3 separate regions of the Homo sapiens genome follow, and all the other regions are linked to region 1. The links are contacts of gene promoters, found by promoter capture Hi-C in human tissues and cell types (Jung and others, 2019). All regions are on one chromosome and are shown on one strand. The core of a region is centred on a gene start or on the middle of the fragment in contact, and the rest is flanking DNA. Distances in the headings are between cores, read along the strand shown.

What was found. Contacts are between HindIII fragments. The study calls those that stand out against the background at their distance.
Region 2: a fragment that was not itself captured here is called in contact with the fragment with the promoter of HLX in region 1 in 1 of the 25 tissues and cell types used here (aorta).
Region 3: a fragment that was not itself captured here is called in contact with the fragment with the promoter of HLX in region 1 in 1 of the 25 tissues and cell types used here (lymphoblastoid cells).

What each region holds. Positions count from the first base shown.
Region 1 is chr1:220,877,804-220,880,984 of GRCh38, reverse strand. It overlaps HLX (H2.0 like homeobox), which reads right to left and starts at 1,542. Exons shown (of 4, transcript NM_021958.4): 1 at 536-1,542. The coding sequence starts at 1,127. HLX-AS1 (HLX antisense RNA 1) reads left to right here and starts at 845. Exons shown (of 3, transcript NR_046901.1): 1 at 845-1,136. RefSeq lists an enhancer at 209-817 and a silencer at 1,936-1,985. The HindIII fragment of the contact is 15,886 bases long and covers 1-3,181 here.
Region 2 is chr1:221,996,227-221,999,483 of GRCh38, reverse strand. No RefSeq gene overlaps it. Among named protein-coding and RNA genes, the nearest start is that of LINC02257, 19 kb to the right of the region's middle. The HindIII fragment of the contact is 5,367 bases long and covers 1-3,257 here.
Region 3 is chr1:222,179,009-222,182,328 of GRCh38, reverse strand. No RefSeq gene overlaps it. Among named protein-coding and RNA genes, the nearest start is that of LINC01705, 120 kb to the right of the region's middle. The HindIII fragment of the contact is 8,549 bases long and covers 1-3,320 here.

The DNA of each region.
Region 1 (3,181 bases), core at 293-2,792:
TGTATATAGTAAGTAAAGGCTTTACATAAATCGGCTTACGGCCTCACTTTCACGTGTCTTCCAAGAACGCCACAGACGCAAAACCTCCGCCCCAAGGTGGCCCCACTCTGCCCGCTCATCTAGGCGGTTTTGTTTATTATTTACATTTCCTGGGTGAAATTTTTACTAGAAATCAGATAAGTGCGAAAGTGTTTCCCAAAAATGCTTTAGCTGTCAGAAAATATAATTCTGTCTCTAGATACATTATTAAAGAGATCAAAGTCATGTTAGCAGATAATTACACCAACCACTTTTATAAATATTGATTCTAAGACGTGTTTTTAAAGAATCCCTGGAGTCATTTTTTGTTTGTTTTACATAGAACAGGTGAGTTTTAGACCTAATGTTTTGTAGTTTTCTTACAATTCGTTTTCTTCTCTCCCGTTTTACCGATTTGTCCTTAATTGTAAAAACACTCAAAGGCACCCCAAGCCAGCCCGGGGTCCGGGGAGTGGGTCAGTGGTCAGAGGCCTGCAGCCTCCCGCCCAAGACCTACCTCTCAGCGTGTTGCCTTCTTTGACTTTTGGGTCAAATTCTGCAGATAAAATGCGGTCAATTCCAAATTTGAGGTCTTTGCTGGAGGGGGCCGGGGCAGAGCCACTGTGGTGGGGGTTCGGAACCACTCGCGTCCCCGAGGCCGGGGGCTGCAGGGCGCCAGCCCGGGGCGGAGGCGGAGGCTGTTGCTGCTGCGGCTGTTGCTGCTGCTGTTGTTGTTGCGGGTGATGGTGGTGGTAGGCGGCTGAGAGCGGAGACAGCCGCTGCGGGAAGCCAGCCGGGACTTCGGAGGGCGCCACCACTGGGGTGGGTCGAAGCGGGGATCTGGCCGCCGCTTGGAAAGAGGCGTGCGGGTGAACCGAGCCCAAGTGCGCGGTGAGGGCGGCGGCCGAGGCCCCTGCCAGGCCCTCCGGGGCCGCCCCCAGATCCCCCACGCCGGCGTGCAGAATGTCTGCGATGCAGAAGGAGGGCTTTTTGACGGCGGCGGGGTCCAAGGGGAAGGAGCAGCCGCCTGGGCCGGCCGAGGAGCAGTAAGCGGCCGACCAGAGGCTGAAGTTGGAGGCGTAGAAGGGAGCCAGCCCGGCTGCGAACATCCTGCCGGGGTGAGCCGCGCGGCTGCCGCAGTCCAGCCGGACTGGGTGGGTGGGCGCGCGGGGAGGGGCGCGCGAGTCCCGGAGAAGGCGGCGGCAGCCGAGGACGATCCGCTTTCGCTTCTCCGCCCGCACTGAGGAAGAGAGGCCGGGAGCCCTAGCGCCACCGAGGGAGGAGGCGAGGGCCGGATCTCGGCCGGTCACCGCCTCGCTCCCTGGCCTCGCTTTAAAGGCGGCGCGGCGCCCGCACTCCTCGCGGGCTGGATGAGAGCGAGGGGCGCTGGGGCCGCAGGGCGGGCGGGGGAGCCAGGGAGACGGGAGCCGGACACCGCAAGAAAACCCAAATAGCTAAGCCCTAAGAGCTAAATTTAAAACAACAACAATAATAGTCCGTTAGTTAGGGGGGGGGAAAAGTAATAGAAAAAAAAAAAAACTCGTCTCTAAAAACTCCCAAAGTTTTGGCAGGAGCTTTCGAGTCAGGCCCGGGGTAGGACCTCGATCCGAGCGCTCATTGGTCATCCTCGTGACCAATGGGAGCGGGGAGTGGAGGGGAATTAGGAACAAGGGGGCCTGGCCGGACCCTAGCCACGCCCCGGCCACGCCAAAGTTTTTGCTGCGGCCGCGTGGGCTTAGTAGCGCACATCGCAGTGCTTCTTGCTACTCTGCGTAGGGGCCAGGCAGCCGCTCCGGAGGGCTCTGACTCTCTTCTAACTTCTGCAGCTCCGAACCGCCACGGGGCAAGGAGGGTTGATCACAGGAGCTTTCCTGAAGCGCTTGTCACCCGGGGCGAGTTGGGGGCGTGGGGAAGGGACGGTAATCTCACTCTTTAGGGCTCTGCAAAGCCCGCCTCCCGGTGGAGAGCGGAGCGCGCTTTGGCCCCTTTGCTTCCCTTCTCTTGACCTCATTCTGCTTTTATTCCAGGAGTCCGTGTCCTCGGCAAAGCCCCTCATCTTTCCTGGGCCCTTGCCCAAATGTTGCCGCCCTGAGTCCCGGCCCAACTCAGCACCGCGTCCGCCTCGTGCCTCCCAGGAGATCCTCCGGGAAGCGAGGAGGAGGGGCGGCCGCAAATTGGTTTTATTCTGAGCTGTCACACAGTGACAAATTGAACGAGTGACTTTTCAAACAAAATAAGACGGATGGCTCCAAACGTCTCTCTTAGACGCAGCCAAACCTTTCCCCGGAGCCTCAGAGGCTACAAAACAGGCTGCCTCCCGAAACCCGGGAGAGCGGCACGCGCTTCCATCCTTTGCAGGAGGTTGTAGGAAATGTTAGCCTCACCCCTCCACCACATCTCCGGATCACGTGGGGTTCGTTGTTTTGCAAGTGCCCACAAGAGCAGATTTCCGTGGGGTTCAATACTGCTTTCAATTCTGTGACAGCTTCCCCAGGAACCCCTTGGGCCTGGTTGCAGGAGGAGCTGCGTGGTGGTCAACGTCTTCCATTCGTGCCTTGGGTCTTTAGAACGCAGGGTAGTGGTGGTGGAGGTTTTGTGCAACATCGACATATCTATTTTAAGAATTTCTTCTCTTTAAATTATAGTCAGAATGAATTTCCCCACCCCTCTCCCAAACAAACCACAGGCCACCCAGATGAGCTGTTCTTGCACATTTTCAGGAAGAAAATAAAATAATACGAATAATGAAACCACGAAAACTTTTGTTTTCGATTGCCCTAATAAGCATCTCCTAACAGGGATTCTGTGACATTTTTATTTCCCTTCAGCACGAAGGCTCCTCACCAAATAAACCCAGAAAAGCAAGTGAACTTGCCATGCCTATCTCGAGTTCAGGGTTTGGGCTTATAAAATTAATTTCTGGTGTTTTCTCTAGCCCCTTGATGCAGATGCTATCCTTTTAAGCTTTTGACTTTCTCCTGGAAAATTATCAATCACTTCTGATCAGCCAGCACTAAGATCTCTCCCTCTCCCTCTCTCTCTCCCTCCTCCCGCCCTCCAGCTCTCCCGCTCTCGCTCTCCATCTCTCTTTTACTGAAAGGTTTTCTTCCCCTGCTCCACGCAACCAGGAGAGAGGTGCTATTTCCAGAGATAGATGGGTGTG
Region 2 (3,257 bases), core at 511-3,010, 1.1 Mb before region 1:
AAAGAATAGTAATACTAAGGGAGAAGACTTAACTTACGAGATTTTTAAATGCTTAATGACGATTTTGCCATCAAAACAGCATATACATCAAGGTAAATTTCAAAATATATCCCATATAGGCCCACTGTCCTTTGTCTTAAATTCTTGGGGTTACATATGTTTGTGAATTTAAAATTTGAATTTCAGAAAGGTAATTTGGTTATATCCTAAATATTACTGAATACTTCATAGACCTCAGAACCCAGTGGGGTCAGGACCAGTACTACATAAACAAACATATTGATATTTCTGTAATGAAACTCAGTAGGACACATAAAAACTACAAACAGCCTCCAACTGATTCAAGTCATATTTTGTTCCCAAGTGAACGTTGGCACGAAACTCATGAAAAAGAAAAAAAAATGTGCTTTTTAGAACTTCGCTAATTTTGAAATTTTGGATTGCAGATCATGGGCCTTTATGTATGTCATAGGCTGTACTCCCTGGAAGCTGACTCTGATATGGAGATTAGGTTGTAGGACTTTGTATTAGTCAGTTCTCATGCGGCTATGAAGAAATATCCGAGACTGGGTAATTTATAAAGAAAAGAGGTTTAATTGACTCACAGTTCTGCCTGGCTGGGGAGGCCTCAGGAAACTTACAATCATGGCAGAAAGCACCTCTTTACGGGGTGGCAGGAGAGAGAATGAGTGAAGAGTGAAGTGGGGGAAAAGCCCTTTATAAAACCATCGGATAGCATGAGAACTTACTCACTATCATGAGGACAGCATGGGGGAACTGCCCCCATGATCTAATCACTTCCCGTGAGGTCCCTCCCTCAACATATAGGGATTATAATTTGGATTACAATGCAAGAGGAGATTTGAGTTGGGACACACAGCCAGACCATATCAGACATTCATTAGGGAGTGTGCTTGGGGTGAGCATGGAAGGAGAGGACAGAAGTGAAATTGAGCACAGAGATAAGTTGAGCTGTGATTCAGTCCCAAGAAAGGCTGCAGCCACACACCACATAGGGAGCTGTGGGGCTTAGAAGGTCATTTAGATTCTTTTTCAGGCAGATTTTTTTTTTTTTTTCTGCAGAGTCAATCCCCAAAGAACTGGCAGCTGAGAGCTGTCTTCTAGCTGCTGGAGAAACAAAGTCCTTCATTCCTGAAAGGGAGTTTGGGGTATAGGCCAAGACACCCATGATGTGTGTGGGGATCTAATACATGATAAGGAAAACCACACACAAATGGATTAGTCAGCAAACAGTTTGGGGAATGATCGCCAGTTAAATCTTCACCTCGTGCTACATGTAAAATAAACACAAGATGAATTATCAAGTTAATTACAAAAAATAAAACATCTCAAAATACAAATAAATATTCTCCTGTCTTCAAAGTGGAGAAGGAATTATAAACAAAAAGCATGGAAGAAATTACAAGGTAAAAGCAAAGATTTGAATACAAGTAAATTTAAGGGGTTCTTTTTTGTTTTTTGTTTTTGTTTTTGTTTTTTCAGATGGAGTCCCACTCTGTTGCCCAGGCTGGAGTACAGTGGTGAGATCTTGGCTCACTGCAACCTCTGCTTCCCGGGTTCAAGCAATTCTCCTGCTTCAGACTCCTGAGTATCTGGTATTACAGGCACACATACCATGCCTGGTTAATTTTTTTGTACTTCTAGGACAGACAGGGTTTGGCTATGTTGGTCAGGCTGGTCTTGAACTCCTGACCTCAAGTGATGTGCCTGCCTTGGCCTCCCAAAGTGCTGGGCTTACAGGCGTGAGCCACCGTGCCCAGCCTAAAACTTTTTAATGTTGAAATCATTAGCAAAATTAAAAGACAGAAAACATGTAGAAAAAATTTGCAGCATAGATAGCAAAGGATTAATATACATATGCATGTATATATATATCTCATATAAATCTCATGAAAGCTCATATAAATAAATAAGAATATTTCACTAGGAAAGAAAAATGGGCAAAGATTATAAATAGAGCATTCTATAAACATACACAGAGTTTTCAACCACACAAAATAAACTCAAGAAAATTTCAATAAAACTTTGTTATCACTTTTTTTTTGCATATATAAAGTTCCAAACATTATAAAACATGACAGGTTTTGGCCAGGTGCAGTGGCTCACTCCTGTAATGCCAGCACTTTGGGAGGCCAGGGTGGGTGGATCACTTGAACTCAGGAGTTGGAGGCCAGCCTGGGCAACATGGCAAAACTCTGTCTCTATGAAAAATACAAAAATTAGCTGGGTGTGTTGGCAAGCGCCTGTAGTCCCAGCTACTTGGGAGGCAGAGGTGGGAGTATGGCTTGAGCCCAAGAGGTAGAAGCTGCAGTGAGTCATGATTGCTCCACTGTACTCCAGCCTGGGTGACACAGTGAGACTGTCTCAAAAATAAATAAATAAATAAATAAATAAAATAAAACATGACAGTTCTTACTGTTGTGACAGCCAGTAGAAGTATAAATTGTTGCCACTTATCTAGAAAACTATTTGACAATTTATTTAAGAAACTTAAAAATCTTTGTATACCTTTATCCTGAAATTCTTTTTGTAAGGAATCTGCTGAGGAAAAACACAGCAGTTCAAAGAACTATTCACGCAAGAGGGTTTTCATTGCTACATTATATAAGATAAGCAAAGGGTTAGAAACACTCTCTCAATAACAAAGAAATGCTTAATAAATTGTTGTACACAGATGTAATTAAATTATTATGGAGACATTAACATATAACATTAAAAAAACTAAATGACAAGAACATGCTTACAAAATTGTTAGAAAATGTAAGATATGAAACTATATACAATGACATCTATCTTATCTCTATTTATCAGAAAGACAATACAAATAATATGCCAAAGCATTAATAGTGCTTATCTCTGGCTGGGTGTTACAGTATAACAAGTCTACATTTTCTTTTGTATACTTCTACTATATTTTCCAAATACAACCATGTAACAAACATGGTAGCAAAAGGTAACAAACATGTTACCTTTATAATAAAAGAGAAATCAAAGTTTATCTAGGCCAGGAGTGGTGGCTCATGCCTATAATCCCAGCATTTTGGGAGGCTGATGTGGGAGGATCACTTGAGGCCAGGAGTTCAAGGCCAGCTTGGGCAAAATAGTGAGATCCTTCTGCTACCAAAAATAAAAATAAAATATTATAAAATAAAACATGCAGAATTGTGTGATCTGTAGTCTTATACAGTAATGTTCAACCTTTTATGAACAGAACAAGCTTTGTATAATATCTTTTT
Region 3 (3,320 bases), core at 414-2,913, 1.3 Mb before region 1:
GTGGAATATGTATGTAATAGGAATAAACTTATGGGGGTCCATGGGACATTCTGTTTTTTTTTCCTGTGGACATATGTTTTTATTTTTAGGAGTGGTATTACTGGTAACATTATAAGACACTGCCACACTGTTTTCCAAAGTGGCTGTATCATTTTGCATTTCTGTCAGCAATGAATAAGAGTCCTAGTTGCTCCATATCCTTGTCAACTTGTGGCATTATTAGTCTTTTGAATTTTAGCAATTGACATAGGTGTATGGAGGTATTTCATTTTAGTTTTAAATTTGCACTTACCTAATTGCATCAAATAAGTTTTAGAAATTCACTCTATAAATGATAGCTTCTGTGCTATTTAATTTTTAATCCATTATATATGTGTAGATATAAATATATAACTATACATTCATATCCTAAATTCATAGAGTTTCTATGAGAACGTCTTCACATTTTTTATTAAAGGTACATTTTTTTTAAAAGGCTTAATTTTTTTAGAATAGTTTCAGGTTGATAGCAAAATTGAGAAGGTACAGAGATTACTCAGCTATCCCCTCACCCTGCACATGCATTGCCTCCCCCATTAATAACACCCTTCATCAGAGTGCTACATTACAAGTGATAAACTCACATTAACTCATCATTATTACCCAAAGTTCATGGCTTACATGAGGGGTCACTCTTGGCATTATACATTCTATGGGTTTGCACAAATGTATAATAAGATGTATCCAGCATTATAGTATCATAGAGTAGTTTCACTGACCTCTGCATTTTGCCTGTTGATCCTTTCCCCCTTCCTGCTGCTAATTCATGGCAACCATTGATCTTTTTACTGTTTCCAGAGTCTTGCCTTTTCCAGAATAGCGTATAGTCATACAGTATGTACTCTTTCCAGATGGACTTCTTTAACTTAGTCATATGCACTTAAGTTTCCCCCATATCTTTTATGGCTTGACAGCTCATTTCCTTTTAGCACTGAATTGTATTCTATTGCCTGATGTATCAATGTTTATTTATCCATTCACCTACTGATGGACATCTTGGTTGCTTTCAAGTTCTGGTAATTATGAATAAAGCTGCTATAAACATCTCTATGCAAGTTTTTGTGGGGGTATATATTTAAAACTCCTCTGGATAAATACCAAAGAGTCCAGTTGCTGAATTGTGTGGTAAGAGTTTGTCTGTTTTTTAAAGAAACTGCCAAACTGTTTACCAAGGTTGTGGTACCATTTTGCATTCCTACCAGCAGTGAGTGAGTGTTCCTACTGCCCCACATTCTTACCAGCATTTACTGGAGTCAATGTTCTGGGTTTTGGCTATTCCAGTAGGTTCATAGTGGTATCTCATTGTTTTAATTTGCATTTCCCTGACGACATATGATGTGGAGCATCTTTTCATATGCTTAGTTGCCATCTGTATATATTCTTTGGTGAGGTGTCTGTTAAGGTTTTTGGTTCATTTAAAAAAATAATTCCAACTTTTATTTTAGATTCAGAGGGTACCTGTGTAGGTTTGTTACCTGGGTATATTGAGTGATGCCAAGGTTTGGGATGTAACTGATCCTGTAAGCTAGGTACTAAGCATAGTACCCAACAGTTAGTTTTTCAGCCCTTTCCCCCTTTTTCCTTCTCCCTTCTAGTAGTCCCCAGTGTCTATTGTTGTCATCTTTATGTCCATGACTGCCCAATGTTTAGCTCCCACTTATAAGTGGGAACATATGGTATTTGGTTTTCTGTTTCTGCATTAATTTGCTTAAGATAATGGCCCTCAGCTGTATCTATATTGCGGCAAAGGACATGATTTCATTCTTTTTATGGTTGCTTTGTATTCCATGGTATGTATGTGCTACAGTTTCTTTATCTAATCCACCATTGATGGGCACCTAGTTGATTCCATGTCTTTGCTATTGTGAATAGTGCTGCAATGAACATACAAGTACACATGTCTTTATTTGGTAGAACAATTTGGGTTTTGGGGGTATGTATGCAGTAATGGGATTGCTGGGTGGAATGGTAGTTCTATTTTAAGTTCTTTGAGAAAGCTCCAAACTGCTCTCCACAGTGGCTGAACTAATTTACATTCCCACCAACAGTGTATAAGTGTTCTCTTTTCTCTGCAGCCTTGCCAACATCTGTTGTTTTTTGACTTTTTAAATCATAGCCAATCTGACTGGTGTGAGATGGTATCTCATTGTGGTTTGATTTGCATTTCTCTGATAATTTGTGATGTTGAGCATTTTTTCACTTTTTTTTGGGTTCTTGAATGTCTCCTTTTGAGAAGTGTATGCTCATGTCTTTTGCCCATTTTAAAATGGGGCTGTTTGTTATTCCTCATTCAATTGTTTAATTTCCTTATAGATTGTGAATATTAGACATTTGTCAGGTGCATAGTTTGCAAATATTTTCTCCCATTTTGTAGATTGTCTGTTTACTCTGTTGATAGTTTCTTTTGTCGTGTAGAAGCTCTTTAGTTCAATTAGGTTCTACTTGTCAATTTTTGTTTTTGTTGTAATTGCTTTTGAGGACTTAGTCACAAATTTTTCCCCAAGGTTGATATCCAGAAAGGGGTTCCCCAGATTTTTCTCCAGGATTGGTATAGTTTGGGGTCTTACATTTAAATATTTAATCTGTCTTGAGATAATTTTTATACATGAGGACAGGTAGGGGTCCAGTTTCATTCTTCTGCATATGGCTCACCGGCTATCCCAGCACTATTTGTTGAACAGGGAGTCCTTCCTCTATTGCTTATTTTTGTCGACTTTGTTGAAGATCAAATGGTTGTAGGTGTGCGACTTTATTTCTGGGTTCTTATTTTGTTCCTTTGCTCTATGGGTCTATTTTTGTACCAGCACCATGTTGTTTTGCTTACTGTTGTCTTTGAGTATATTTTGAAGTCAGTAATATGATGCCCCCAGCTTTGTTCTTTTGCTAGAATTCCCTTGACTGTTTTGGTTCTTTTTTGGCTCTATATAAATTTTAGAATAGCTTTTTTTCCCAATTCTGTGAAAAATGACATTCATAGTTTGTTAGAAAGCGATGAATCTGTGGATCGCTTTGGGCAGTATTGCCATTTTAACAATATTGATTCTTCCAATCCATAAGCATAGAATGCTTTTGCATTTGTTTGGGTCATCTATGCTTTCTTTCAGCAGTGTTTTTTAGTTCTCCTTATAGAGCTCTTTCATCTCCTTGGTTAGGTGTATTCCTAGATATTTTATTCTTTAAATGGCTTTTTAAAATTTTTTATTTATTTATTTATTTATTTTTTTTGAGATGGAGTTTCTCTCTTGTCACCCAGGCTGGAGTGCAATGGCGAGATCTTGGCT